5 separate regions of the Homo sapiens genome follow, and regions 1, 2, 3 and 5 are each linked to region 4. Evidence: promoter capture Hi-C in 16 types of primary human blood cells and fetal thymus (Javierre and others, 2016). All regions are on one chromosome and are shown on one strand. The core of a region is centred on a gene start or on the middle of the fragment in contact, and the rest is flanking DNA. Distances in the headings are between cores, read along the strand shown. Region 1 overlaps USP32 (ubiquitin specific peptidase 32). Region 2 overlaps USP32 (ubiquitin specific peptidase 32). Region 3 overlaps PPM1D (protein phosphatase, Mg2+/Mn2+ dependent 1D). Region 4 holds the start of USP32 (ubiquitin specific peptidase 32). Region 5 overlaps APPBP2 (amyloid beta precursor protein binding protein 2).

Region 1 (2,724 bases), core at 223-2,722, 140 kb before region 4:
GATCAACTTTTTTAGCTCCCACTTAAAAGTGAGAACACGTGATATTTGTCTTTCTATGCTTGGCCTATCTCACTTAACGTAATGACCTCCGGTTTTATCCATGTTGCTGCAGATGACAGGATTGCATTCATTTTATGGCTGAATAACATTTTATTGTGTATGTGTGTGTGTATATATATATATATTTTTTTTTTTTCTTTATCCATTCATCAACTGATGGACACTTAAGTTGATTCTGTATCTTGGCTATTGTAAGTAGTGCTGCAATAAACACAGGGGTGTAGATAGCTCTTTGCTTTACTGATTTCCTTTCTTCTGAATATATACCCAGCAGTGGGATCGCTGGATAATATGGTGGATCTATTTTTAGTTTATTGGGGCACCTCCATACTGTTTTCCATATTGACTGTACTAATTTACATTCCCATCAATAGTGTACTAGCACTTCCCTTTCTTCACATCCTCATCAGAATCAGTTATTCTTTGTCTTTTTTATAATAGCCATTTTAACTGGGAGATAATATTTCATTGTGGTTTTGATATTTCGATTATGATTAGTGATGTTGAGCATTTTTTCATATATCTGCTGGCCATTTGTATGTCTTTTTTTGAGCAATGTCTATTCAGATCACTTGCCCATTTTTAAATTGGGTTATTTGGTTTTTTGTTATTGAGTTGAGGCCTTTATACATTCTGGTTATTAAAACCTTGATGAATGGATAGTTTGCAAATATTTTCTCCTATTCTGTTGGTTGTCTCTTCACTCTGTTGACTGTTTCCTTTGCTGTAAAGCTTTTTAACTTGATGAAATCCTGTTTGTCCATTTTTGCTTTGGCTGACTGTGCTTTTGAGGTATTATACAGTGTCATACCACTCAGACAAATGTCCTACAGCATTTCCCCAATTTCGTCTAGTAGTTTAGGTCTTAGATTTAAGTCTTTGAATCCATTTTCTTTTCTTTTTTTTTTGAGGCGGAGTCTCCCTGTGTAGCCCAGGCTGGAGTGCAGTGGGGCAATCTCGGCTCACTGCAACCTCCACCTCCCGGTTTCAAGCAGTTTTCCCACCTCAGCCTCCTGAGTAGCTGGGATTACAGGCGCCTGCCACCATACCCAACTAGTTTTTGTACTTTGAGTAGAGATAGGGTTTCACCATGTTGGTCAGGCTGGTCTCGAACTCCTGGCCTCAGGTGATCCAGCCGTCTCGGCCTCCCAAAGTGCTGGGATTACAGGCATGAGCCACCTCGCCCAGCCTCTTTAATCCATTTTGATTTGATTTTAGTGTATGGTAAGAAATTGGGAACTGGTTTCATTCTTCTGCACGTGGATATCCAATTTTTCCAGCACCATTTATTGAAGAGATTGTCCTTTCTCTAATGTATGCTCTTGGCATCTTTGTCAAAAAAGAGTTGGTTGTAAATGTGGGGGGTTTTGCTTGTTTGTTTGTTTTGGTTTTTTTTTTGTTTGTTTGTTTTTGAGACAGAGTCTCATTCTGTTGCCCAGGCTGGAGTGCAGTGGCGTGATCTTGGCTCATTGCAACCTCCACCTCCCCAGTTCAAGCGATTCTCCTGCCTCAGCCTCCTGAGTAGCTGGGACTACAGGCATGTGCTATCACACCTGGATAATTGTTTTGTATTTTTAGTAGAGACGGGGTTTCACCGCGTTAGCCAGTATGGTCTCAACCTCCTGACGTCATGATCCACCTACCTCAGCCTCCCAAAGCACTAGGATTACAGGCGTGAGCCACCACGCCTGGCCTGGATTTATTTCTGGGTTCTCTGTTCTGTTCCATTGGTCTATTTGTCTGTTCTTATGTCAGTGCCATGCTGTTTTGGTTACTATAGCTTTGTAGTGTATTTTGAAGTCAGGTAGTAATTCACCTTTATTTCTGAATTACAGTTCTGCTAGATAAAGAATTCTGGATTGACAGTTTTTGCTTTTTTGGTTTTTTCCTTATATCACTTTCTCATATCACTGCACACTGAGCTCTATTGTTTCAAAAAGTCAGCTGTTTATCACATTGTGGTTCCCTTCTACATGATGAGTCTTTCTGCTCTTGTGGCTTTCAACTTCTTCCTTTGTCTTTAGTTTTCAACACTTTGACAATGATATGTCTAGGTGTGATTCTTTCTGTGTTTAACCTAGTTGGAGTTCATTAAGCTTCTAAGATTAATAATTTTCGAGAAATTTTAGAACTTTCAGACATTATCTTGTCAAACTTTTTTCTGCTTCTTTCTTTCCTTCTGAGACTTTCATTATGCATATTTTGGTAGACTTGATCATGTTCCAACTTCTGTGAAACTCTGTTCATTTATTTGGTCTTCTTTCTCTCTTTCTGATGAAATAATCTCTATTGATCCATATTCTGTTTTGCTGAATATTTCTCTGTCAACTCAAATCTGCTAGAATTTCTATTTGATTCTGTTTTAAATTTTTATTTATTTATTGCTATTTTCTATTTGGACAAGTCAGTGAGATCATACATTCCTCTAATTCTTTAAATACAGCTTCGTTTAGCTCTTTGAAAACATTTACAATAGTTGTATTGAAGTCTTTGTGTGCTAAGGAGAACATCTGCTGCCACCTCTGAGACAGTTTCTACTATTCTTTGTTTTTTCCTCGTATATGGGTCACATTTTCCTGTTTTATTCCATGTCTCATAATTTTTTCTTGTTGAAAACTGAACACATTTGATACTTTATATTAGCAACTCTGGATTCTGAACCCC
Region 2 (2,700 bases), core at 71-2,570, 160 kb before region 4:
ATAGGATGGGCTGCAGTTCCAAATGAGTATTTTCCTCCATTCAAAACAGATGATGGCTCAATTACCACAGGGTTGGCATCCTAAAATCAGGAAATCAGAGAATAAGAAGCAAAGTTTATAATCTGACAACTATGTAGTCTTCAGAAACAAATCTCACAATTATCTATTTTTTTAAGTCTCCTGTGGTTGGCCACAGACATTTAAAAACATTCTAATACATAGCTATATTTTAATCTCTTTCAGGAGGAAAAGTATGTATATAGATAAAATTGGCAAGGTAGACAAAACAGACTGTGAAGGATTTTGTGCCACATAAAGTAATTTACACTCTATTCTGTTGGCAGCCATTTTTTTAACATTAAAAGTAAATAAAGCTTAAATTTTTTTCTTTTCTTCCTTATTTCCCATAGTACATGAATGTATATAATTTTTTTATTATTAAAGATTACATGGTCAATGTAGAAAATATAGAAAACATGAAGAAAATATCACATGTACTCAGATTCCATCATTTAGCAATAACTGTGTTTTAGTTCTTATGACTGAAAAATATGTATATATGTAAAAGATGAGTGGTGTATGTACATAGAGTGAAGGGCAATGCTATGACTTATACCTATGTGACCTTCTACAATAACTGAACACACCTTTAATCCCAGCACTTTGGGAGACCGAGGCAGATGGATCACTTGAGGTCAGGAGGCCAAAATGGTGAAATCCCATCTCTACTAAAAATACAAAAATTAGCTGGGGGTGGTGGAGGGCTCCTGTAATCCCAGCTACTCGGGAGGCTGAGGCAAGAGAATCACTTGAACCCGGGAGGTTGCAGTAAGCTGAGATTGCGCCACTGTACTCCAGCCTAGGCAACAGAGTGAGACTCTGTCTCAAAAAAAAAAAAAAAAAAAAAAATCATATTTTTTTCTTTCACCAAACATTGTATTGTTTATATAGTGCTAATATGCTAATCTAACATTTCATATTTTCTCTATTTCTCTTTTTAACAAAGAGAGAACAATCCTAAATAGCAGAGTCTTCAAAAGGCAACACTATTAGCTGGAATTTAATAATATTATTGCCTTCTATTTCTGGCAAGCGACACTAGTTTTCTTTTCTTTTTTTCTTTTTTTTTTTTTTTTGAGACGGAGTCTTACTCTGTCACCCAGGCTAGAGTGCAGTGGCGTGATCTCGGGTCACTGCAACCTCCACCTCCCAGGTTCAGGAGATTCTCCTGCCTCAGCCTCCCGAGTAACTGGAATTACAGGTGCATGCCACCAAGCCCAGATAATTTTTGTAGTTTTCATAGAGATAGGGTTTCACCATACTGGCCAGGCTGGTCTTGAATTCCTGACCTCAGGTTATCTGCCCGCCTGGGCCTCCCAAAGTGCTGGAATTACAGGCGTGAGCCACCATGCCCATTCAGTTTTTCTTTTCTTTTTTTTTTTTTTGAGACAGGGTCTCGCTATGTTGGCTAGGTCAGTCTTGAACTCCCGGCCTCAAGCAATACTCCTGCCTGGGCCTCCCAAAGGGCTAGGATTAAAGGCGTGAGCCACTGTGCCCAGTGGACATAAGTTTTCTACTTAAAGTAGTGATATAAAGTTTCCTTTGAAAATATGATTAAATAACTAATTAATCACAAACAGTTATAAATTTCTTTGTTCCTTGTCTGTTACCACTGCTTCACTTTAGTAGCCAAAAAATTTTTTTAAATTTTAAGTAAAAATGGCATAATTATTTATGTAAGTTAACTGTATGGCATTACATGAGAAAAATGGTGACCATAGTTTAAAAAAATGATTAAGAAGTAGGAATCTATATTACATATGAATTTTGGACCATCAATTTTTAAAATTTAGATGGTTCACCAAAGTAGTCAAAATTCTTTTTTTTTTTTTGAGACAGAGTCAAGCTCTGTCGCCCAGGCTGGAGGTCAGTGGTGCAGTCTCGGCTCACAGCAACCTCCGCCTCTAGCTTCAAATGATTCTCCTGCCTCAGCCTCCTGAGTAGCTGGAACTACAGGCACCTGCCACCACACACAGCTAATTTATGTATTTTTAATAGAGACAGGGTTTCACCATGCTGGCCTCAAACTCCTGAACACAAGTGATCCACCTGCCTTGGCCTCCCAGTGTGCTGGGATTACAGGCGTGACCCACTGTGCCTGGCCTAGAAACCAAAATCCTGTAGACAAGACAGTAGAACCAAAATGATCTATGTCAAAAAAGAAGTATAAATTAGTCCTAAGTGTTAATTTTCTTAAAGATAATATCAAGCTTCTCACAGCTTTTCTAATATGGAATTCATACCAACACAAAATACATGACATTTAAATTAGGTTTCTTTTTTCTTTTTCTTTTTTTTTTTTTTTTTAATTAAAACAAGTTTTGGCCAGGGATGGTGGCTCATGTCTGTAATCCCTGCACTTTGGGAGCCAAGGTGGCTGGATCACTTGAGCTCAGGAGAGTTGGAGACCAGCCCGAGCAACGTGGATAGATCCCGTCTTTACAAAAAAATATTAAAAAAAAATAGTGGGGCATGGTGGTGTGCACCTTTAGTCCCCAGTAACTTGAGAGGCTGAGGTGGGAGGATGGCCTCAACCCAGGGGGTGGAGGTTGAAGTGAGTTGAGATCATGCCACTGCACTCCAGCCAGAGCAACAGAGCGAGACTCTTTGTTTTTTTTGTTTTTGTTTTTTTTTTTGGTA
Region 3 (2,707 bases), core at 77-2,576, 210 kb after region 4:
CTTTTTTCCCCAAATAAGAAATAGTGGTGGGAGGAGTGGGGTTGTTTTACATTTTGCAAACCTCTTTCAATGTCTGGCTTAATAGAGGACAGCTGAATGGCCGGGCGCACGCCTGTAATCCCAGCACTTTGGGACACAAAGGCAGGCGAATCACCTGAGGTCAGGAGTTTGAGACCAGCCTGGCCAACATGGTGAAACCTTGTCTCTACTAAAAATACAGAAATTAGCCGGGTGTGGTGGTGCATGCCTGTGATCCTAGTTACTCAGAAGGCTTAGGCAGAGAGAATTGCTTGAACCCGCGAGGCGGAGGTTGCAGTGAGCTGGGATTGGGCCACTGCACTCCAGCCTGGGCAACAGAGTGAGACTCCGTCTCAAAAAAAAAAAAGACAGCTGAATTATCATATCCACTTCTGCACTCAATCTCTTGCGCTATTTGGTTGAAGTATCTAAAGAAATAGCAGCCCCACATGCATATGTAGTAGGAAAAAGGAGAAATATTTTATTAGTCTTTTCAGATAATTGTGGATATTCTGCACTAAAATGGTAGCTATTTTCCCCCCCAGAGAAAGGTGGAAGAAAAGTAGTTTCTTAAAGTTTGCTGAATTGGAATTTGAAACCTTAGTAATGAATTTCATACTTAATACGTTAAGATCCATTGGTCTATTTTGTACTTTGAACGAATCTCATCCATGTGTGATTTTTGTGACATAGTGCATTAGTTATTTGGAAAATAATGGTTCACTCAGTTAAGAACGTCCTCTGAATAGCAACACATTTCATTATACAATATCAAAGAAAATCATGTTTGTTAATATCACTGATCTCATCAGAAAACTCTTTAAATATTGGGAAGCTATCTAGTTCACTGTTGTGGATACACATTATCCAAAATGTATTTTTCAAGCAACAATTAGAAATGTATCATTGAGAACAAATACTGTCAGTTTTTCTTGAAGCGAAAAGCTCACTTTGTTCATGTTGAAGATGTACACCAAATGCCCAAGTCTTATTAACACAGTTTATCAGTCTCTCAAGTAAAGATGATGGTCCATGAAAAATGTGGCTAGTTCATTACATGACTCAGACAATCACAGGTGCTTTTCCTGTAGTATGTAACAAAAGCCTGTTTATGTAGTCTCCTTTTTGTCATATAGAATATTAAAAAGATATGCAGCCTGGGCAACATGGCAAGACCCTGTTGCTATACAAAATAAAAAATTAGCTTGGCATGGTAGCATGTGCGTGTAGTCTCTGCTACTCCAGAGGCTGAGATGGAGGGATTGCTTGAGCCTGGGAGGTGGGGTTACAGTGAACCATGATGGAGCCTGTGCACTCAGCCTGGGCAACAGAAGAAAAAAGTAGGTATTCATGGGTTGGGATTTAATACAATTAATTTTTATTGTGTCATCAAGGATATTCTTTTTTTAATTTTAGTTTTTGTTTTTTGAGACGGAGTCTCACTGTATTGCCCAGGCTGGAGTGCTGTGGCACAATTTCAGCTCACTGCAACCTCCTCCTCTCAGGTTCAAGCGATTCTCGTGCCTCAGCCTTCTGAGTAGCTGGGACTACAGGCATGTGCCATCATACCCAGCTAATTTTTGTATTTTTTTTAGCAGAGATGGGGTTTCGCCATGTTGGCCAGGCTGGTCTTGAACTCTTGACCTCAAGTGATCCATCTGCCTCGGCCTCCCACAGGCATGAGCCACCACTCCTGGCCAGGAATATTCTTAAGTGAAACTAGCTTGCTTTTTTTGGACTGTAATTAGGTAGCTGTGAAGAATGCAGTGACTAATGGCTCAATCTGGTGCCACTGCCTTGACTCCTGCCAAGGTACCAGTAGTTTACCAGCCATTGCTTTCTACCATCAGTACAAATGTCAGCACAGTGAAAAGGGCAAATAAACTCTTAGAATTATTATGAAAATAGTTTTGGCCTTGTAGAATCCCTATAAAGATTACACAGACCACTGGGAGATGCTAGTCTGCTATAGTATCTGCCTGTCAGCTAAATCTTGAGGTCTTTGGGGCCAGAGATACTGCCTTACTCATCTTTAATTGTTTTAGGATTGGCCACATAATACCTTGCCCAAAGTAGCTGCTCAACAACTAGTTGAGTTTAGTTGAATTTCTGTTGAGTGTAAGTAAATAAATGGACTTTCTTCCATTTTTTAATTAAAATTTCTCCTTTTAAAAAATTGTGCTAAAATACAGATAACATAAAGTTTATACCAGGCCAGGCGTGGTGGCTCACGCCTGTAATCCCAGCAATTTGGGAGGCCAAGGCGGGCGGATCACCCAAGGTCAGGAGTTTGAGATCAGCCTGGCCAACATGGTGAAACTCAGTCTCTATTAAAAATACAAAAAAATTAGCCGCACGTGGTGGTGTGTACCTGTAATCCCAGCTACTGGGGAGGCTGAGGTGGGAGAATTGCTTGAACCTGGGAGGCAGAGGTTGCAGTGAGCTGAGATCACGCCATTGCACTCCAGCCTGGGAGAAGACGCGAGACTCTGTCTCATAAATAAATAAATAAAATTTATACCATTTTAGCCATTTTTAGGTATATAATTTAGTGGCGTTAAGTGTATTCATAATGTTGTACAACCATCACCACTATCAGTTTTCAAAACTTCATCAGCCCAAATAGAAACTCTGTGTCCATTAAATAATATCTCATTGTTTCCCCCTTTCCCATCTCTGGTAACCTCCC
Region 4 (2,700 bases), core at 200-2,699:
GAGTTCACTTCTCAAGCCTCATTTTGAATACCCGTCTTTTAATCTAATTACCATTTTATATCCTTAGCTACTAAAACCACCTGGAGCATGGCTGATTTCTTGACTTGGAAACCTGTTAACAATAATGCCTAGCTCCTAATCTTCTTAATGTTTTTTCACTTCTTACCAAGAATATCCATTAAATGTCTAAAAGAAATACAAGCATACACAGATCTACACACACTGAAATCCCAGTCATGAAAAATTAAGACATTCCGGCCATAAACTGTGCAACAAGACACTTCCAGTTAGTGTGTGCTTTAGTGATCATGGACAGCGGTATCAGAGTGAGTGGTAGGGGGTTGGGGCTGCCAACAATATACTGTGCCTCAGAGCCAATAAGCAGCAGGCCGGGACTGGCAGCCAGGCCAGTCTCTAAAGGGAGATTTAACACAATATCTGAATGCTGGACTTCCCAATGCCATTTCATGGAGAGGGATGGAGCGAGAACTGGGCATCAAGTGCAGTCAAAGGCTTTGGTCAACGTCGGAGGAGATGAAACCTAAGACAAGGTCTGGTGCCAACGCCAGCTGTCCAGTCTCATCTCACCTCAAACACAACTTCATTTCAGATCGTTCTTATCAAAGTCAGCCGCTCAAACGGTGAAGGGTGGCAGAAGCGGATGGCCACAGCCCTCAAGAGACAGGCATAGGCTCTGGGAAAAGGCAGGGACTCCCCAGATACGAAGGGGCTTCCAGTAGCAGAGAGGAGCGCTTTGCAGCCGCCTCCTCGTCCCCTTCCAGCTAAGGCTGTTAGGAACGAGGTTAGGATGTTATTTGAGGTTTTTATGAAGGAATGATAGGAGAAAATGGCAATGAAGGATGAGGGGGGCTGGATGGGCTGGAGCCGCCCAAGAAAACGGGGAGAGGACTTCCCTGGACACATCCAGGATCACAACGCCACCAGCGAGCACGGGCACTGCCCTGCCAGCGCCGATCCCCCTCTCTCAGGACAAGCCCCTTTCCAAACGGCCCTAATTCCCAAACGCTGCTTCCCACCCGACCTCTCTCCTCCACCACACTCCCCAAGGCCGGCCGCCTTTCCCTTCCGCCTCAGGCGCCCCACGCCCTCAATCTCCCCTCTCCCTCCCGGTTACCCACCCTCCAGGCTGCCCGTCGCGGGCCTCCCAGGCAGCTCGCCCAGACCCCTCCCCCCTCACCTCTCCTCAGCGCCTCCTCGTAGCTGAGGAATCCGATCCGTGACTCCTTGGCACCCATGCTCCCCTCATCCCCTCGGCGGGGGGTCGGAGCCTGATCTCGCCCCCACCCCCCTCCCGCCTTCTCCTCGGCGTCCCTGGGTGACGGTGACGGTGTCGGCGTCCCCCGCCCCCACCTCCCCCCACACTAACAAGTGCGGCTTCTGCCCCGGCGGCTCCTCCCGGTCGCCGCCACCGCCTCCATGCCGGATCACGTGACTCTTCCGCCCCGCCCCCTTCCCCTGCCTCCTACTCCGCCCTTCTCTCTCCTCTCTCTCCTCCCTCTCCTTCCCTCCTCACGCCCTCTTGCCACTTCCGCCCCCTCCCGCCAGCTCCGCCGAGGGTCACGGGACCCGAGGCCAGACACTGTTCCCGGTAACGGCCGCCCAGGGCCGCACGCTCCGCCCCTCCCCAAGCTAACCGCGCGCAGGAGCGCCGGGGAGGGGGACGCATCTCCGCACGTAACGCATCGTCCCATCTTCCCGCCAATCGCAGCCGCGCGCCCCGCCCGGGCGCCTCCGCTGGCGACGGGGGGTGGTGACTTCCGGGGCGCTTGAGGACGACCCCCCCCGCCCCCGCGCCCACATGTTCTGGCGTTCGGCGGGTGGGGTCCGAGCAGCTGACGGTTAGTGTGGCAGTTGCCGGGACCTAACATGGAAGACCGCAGAATCTTAGGGAATGGGGTTCTGAGGGATGCGGCATATGGCTCAGAAGAGAAAGGAGTGGGTAGGCAGGGAGCTCCCAACCTTAGGGACGTCTTTGACTGGGAGGGCGTTGTGAAAGGAAAGGAGAATCTCAAGGCTTTCCTGTGACAAAAGAATGCTCACACCTAGCGGGAGATCCCTGAGGAAAGTGGACCTTGTTAACGAAGTGGATCTGCCTTTTCGGGTCATCTCGCCTGCCCGGCCCACCTTCTCCTCCTGACCATGCCTCTTGTACACATTCTCTGGAAAGCGCTGTGCAAAAGGCTTATCCTCTCTCCCAGAGTTTCTCCCCGAGAAACATGAGGGCTACAAGGCTTAGCGTGGAGTCGTTTTAATCTGTGGTAAAATATACGTAACAAAATGTACCATTTTCACAATTTCTAAGTGAGTTCAGTGGCGTTAAGAACATTGATATTGTTTTGCATCCATTGCCACGTCCCATTTCCCACCGTTTTTCATCTTGCAAAAGGGAAACTCTGTGCCTATTAAACGGTAACTCCCCAATCCCCCTCCCACTGGTCCGTGGCAACCGCTGTCCTACTATCAATTTCACTACTCTTAAGTATTTCCTCTGAGTGGAACTCTGCAGACTTTCTCTTTTGTGACTGGCTTATTTCACTTGGCATCGTGCCTTCCAGGTTCATGGTGTGGCAGCATGTGACTGACTCTCCCACTCCACCTCTCCATTTCCCAAAGAATGAAAAGCAGGGATGTGAACAGGTATTTGTGCCCCCGTGTTTATAGCAGCATTATTCACGAGAG
Region 5 (2,700 bases), core at 201-2,700, 130 kb after region 4:
CTTATATTTATGTGTGCAGTTATATTGCTTTAAAAAGTTTTTCCAGCCTGGGCAATATATCAAGACCTCATCTATACTAAAAATTAAAAAAAAAAAAATTAGCTAGGCATGGGTGGCATACACCTGTAGTTCCAGCTACTCAGGAGGCTGAGATGGAAAGACTGCTTAAGCCCAGGGGTTCAAGGTTGCGGTGAGCTATGATCACAACTGCACTCCAGCCTGGGCAACAGAGCAAGATCCTGTCTCCACAAAAAAAGTTTCTTATATGTATATGCTAATAGTGTTTAAAAGGAAGAAAAGTCAGGTGCGGTGGCATATGCCTGTAGTCTCAGCTACTCAGTAGGCTGAGGCAGGAGGATAGCTTGAGCCCAGGAGTTCAAGACCAGCTTGGGCAAAACAGCGAGACCCCATCTCTATTTTTTTTAAATTTTAATAAAAAGAATAATTTCTTCTTACATCTCCATTAAAGATTAGAATAGAGTCCTGGGACTGACTTTCACTCCACTTCCATAGAAGCTAATAAAAAAATTAGTGTTATAATATCTTTCATTAAAATAATCTACTATCTTAAGATAGATATCTAAGTAAAAGAGCAAGGAACTCAGGAACTAAATATCAGGTTTGAGACCTTAATTAAATTACTTAACTTTCTCACCAATAAAGCAAGGTTATACTGTACTCTACTTCACAGTTTAATTCTGAAGATTAAACAAAATAACACATAAAAGCACAACATAGTTACAGGCACATGTTTAACACTTCCCTCATCTTAGCACAGTGCCATACTCCCAATAAGCATACAACTATTAAGAAGTAAAAGTGTACCAAAAAGGAGCAATATTAAAACTGTGTGAACTATGTGAAACAGAAATTCTAACAAAAGCACCATCTATTCATACTAATAATCTTCAAATGAAAAGCTTCAATTAGAAGTGAAAGTTACTAAAAGATATTCAAGTATTTTGAACGAATTCAACTAGTAAATACACTTGGATTACATTCCCAATGATTTCCTCTGAGAGATTACATATGAGGTACAAGATTACACATGATTTAATAAAATGGACAGAGAGCACACACAAAGCTGCAGTTTCCCAGGCTGAGAAAGACAAATCTAATTTGTCCTTCCTGGGGAGGAATGTATCTTAAATGAACAAAATTTCCTTAGAATACACAAAAGTAAATCAATGTATCAAAGGGATTAGGAAAAAAGGGAGCTTTTTCTCGAAATCCAAAATAATAATACGCATGACCTAAATGAATCTTCTCCAAATATTTAGGGGGGAAACCCCACTTTAATTGTTAGAATTGGTGCAAAGCAGCTGGATTTAGTAGAACGCAGCCCATCAACTGCTAATTCTGAAAAAAAAAAAAAAAAAAAAAAAAAAATCTAGGGGTGGAGAAAGCAGGCAATCTTCCCAATAAAACAACTGCCACAAAACACTGTACATACGTAAGAACATAAACATCTGTTAAAATATCAGTTTACACTGTTCCAGCCAACTTACAGATCAAGAGGAAGTATTTAAGGTCTAAAAAATAAATTACATTCTACTTTTAGTCACATTTTGCATGGGTGGCTACTGGACACTAGGAGTTATCGACGCGGATTCAAGACAAGGAAGACTGAATAATAAATCCAGTGTTCACATTCAAATGTGGGGGAGAGAAAAGGGCAGGCTCTGAGTCCATAAAGTTCTCCACACTCTGAAAACACTGCAAAAATAGTCCACATCTAAGGACACTTACCCTTGAAACTCCTTGGAGAGTGGCTTGGGAGACTTGCTGTTCAGATTTTTGAGGGGGAGTGATTTAAGAATGCTGCAAGATTGCAACTTTCAAACACAGGAACATAATCTAAAGTGTTTTTTTCTTTCAGTAAAGATCTCTCCCTGTCCTCTTCAAACAGTTGATCAGCACTCCCATTTTCACAAAATCCCTAATTCAAGTATAGAGCCCCTCCTCTCCCACAAAAAAATCAAAGCTTTAAAGAATATGCAAATAAAACACACAGATTATTTCCAATAATCCCTAACTCCTTCCCAATTGGGAAAAGAAAGGAGAAACGAAGGAACACGAAGCAAAAACACCAAAACACTCGGGGAAGGAAGGCGGCGAGATGAGAAAGTAGGAATGGGTGGGGGGAGGAGCACGGAAAAAAGTCCAGCTGATGCTGACACTTAATTGGAAGGAGAGGATGGAAAATATCCTGAAGATACGGGCTAGAAGGAAAGGACTAGGTGGGACAGGGGCGCGATAGAGTAAGTCCACGCAAAAGGCCTACCCAAGAGGGCCACTGTGTAGAAGGGAACACCAACAGGGAGCAAGACTCCCCAAGATTACTTCAAGGCCCCAAAGCTTAAGAGACAGGGCATAGGGAGATGGGGTGCTTCTCCACTGGCAATGCAGACACCGCACCAGACGTTTCGGGAGGCAAGTCTGCCGGAAGGGGTGAGGGGTTAACTGCGGGGGTTCGCAGACGTGGAAGGGGGTGCGGCCCCCGGGGTTGCTGGAGGAGAGCAGAGAGGAGGCCCACGGCGCATACCTTGTAGTAAACATCAAACTGGATGTTCTCGGGCAAGGAGCGGATGTCTCGGCGGGAGCGGATGTAGTTGTCCACGACAGCGGAGATGGCGGTGTTATAGAGAGTCTCTGGGATCCACTCTAGTTCCACGGCCGCCATCTTCCTTCCCTCCTCCT

Evidence for each region. Contacts are between HindIII fragments. The CHiCAGO score rates a contact against its expected background, and 5 or more counts as called.
Region 1: a contact is called between a fragment that was not itself captured here and the fragment with the promoter of USP32 in region 4, in 1 of 17 cell types (endothelial precursors). The highest score is 7.4, in endothelial precursors.
Region 2: a contact is called between a fragment that was not itself captured here and the fragment with the promoter of USP32 in region 4, in 1 of 17 cell types (endothelial precursors). The highest score is 6.4, in endothelial precursors.
Region 3: a contact is called between a fragment that was not itself captured here and the fragment with the promoter of USP32 in region 4, in 1 of 17 cell types (fetal thymus). The highest score is 5.1, in fetal thymus.
Region 5: a fragment that was not itself captured here is called in contact with the fragment with the promoter of USP32 in region 4 in 1 of 17 cell types (fetal thymus); the score reaches 5.9 in fetal thymus.

What each region holds. Positions count from the first base shown.
Region 1 is chr17:60,246,230-60,248,953 of GRCh38, forward strand. All of the region lies in intron 11 of USP32 (ubiquitin specific peptidase 32), which reads right to left. Among named protein-coding and RNA genes, the nearest start is that of CA4, 98 kb to the left of the region's middle. The HindIII fragment of the contact is 1,364 bases long and covers 791-2,154 here.
Region 2 is chr17:60,226,152-60,228,851 of GRCh38, forward strand. USP32 (ubiquitin specific peptidase 32) reads right to left here. Exons shown (of 34, transcript NM_032582.4): 13 at 1-80. Among named protein-coding and RNA genes, the nearest start is that of CA4, 78 kb to the left of the region's middle. The HindIII fragment of the contact is 1,896 bases long and covers 373-2,268 here.
Region 3 is chr17:60,603,391-60,606,097 of GRCh38, forward strand. All of the region lies in intron 1 of PPM1D (protein phosphatase, Mg2+/Mn2+ dependent 1D), which reads left to right. Among named protein-coding and RNA genes, the nearest start is that of PPM1D, 4.6 kb to the left of the region's middle. The HindIII fragment of the contact is 3,887 bases long and covers 1-2,707 here.
Region 4 is chr17:60,390,684-60,393,383 of GRCh38, forward strand. USP32 (ubiquitin specific peptidase 32) reads right to left here and starts at 1,450. Exons shown (of 34, transcript NM_032582.4): 1 at 1,199-1,450. The coding sequence starts at 1,256. RefSeq lists an enhancer at 1,165-2,006 and silencers at 1,181-1,240, 1,271-1,490, 1,601-1,920. The HindIII fragment of the contact is 3,969 bases long and covers 1-2,700 here.
Region 5 is chr17:60,523,249-60,525,948 of GRCh38, forward strand. It overlaps APPBP2 (amyloid beta precursor protein binding protein 2), which reads right to left. Exons shown (of 13, transcript NM_006380.5): 1 at 2,546-2,700. The coding sequence starts at 2,683. Among named protein-coding and RNA genes, the nearest start is that of APPBP2, 1.6 kb to the right of the region's middle. RefSeq lists enhancers at 1,905-2,613, 2,334-2,603 and a silencer at 2,684-2,700. The HindIII fragment of the contact is 1,064 bases long and covers 919-1,982 here.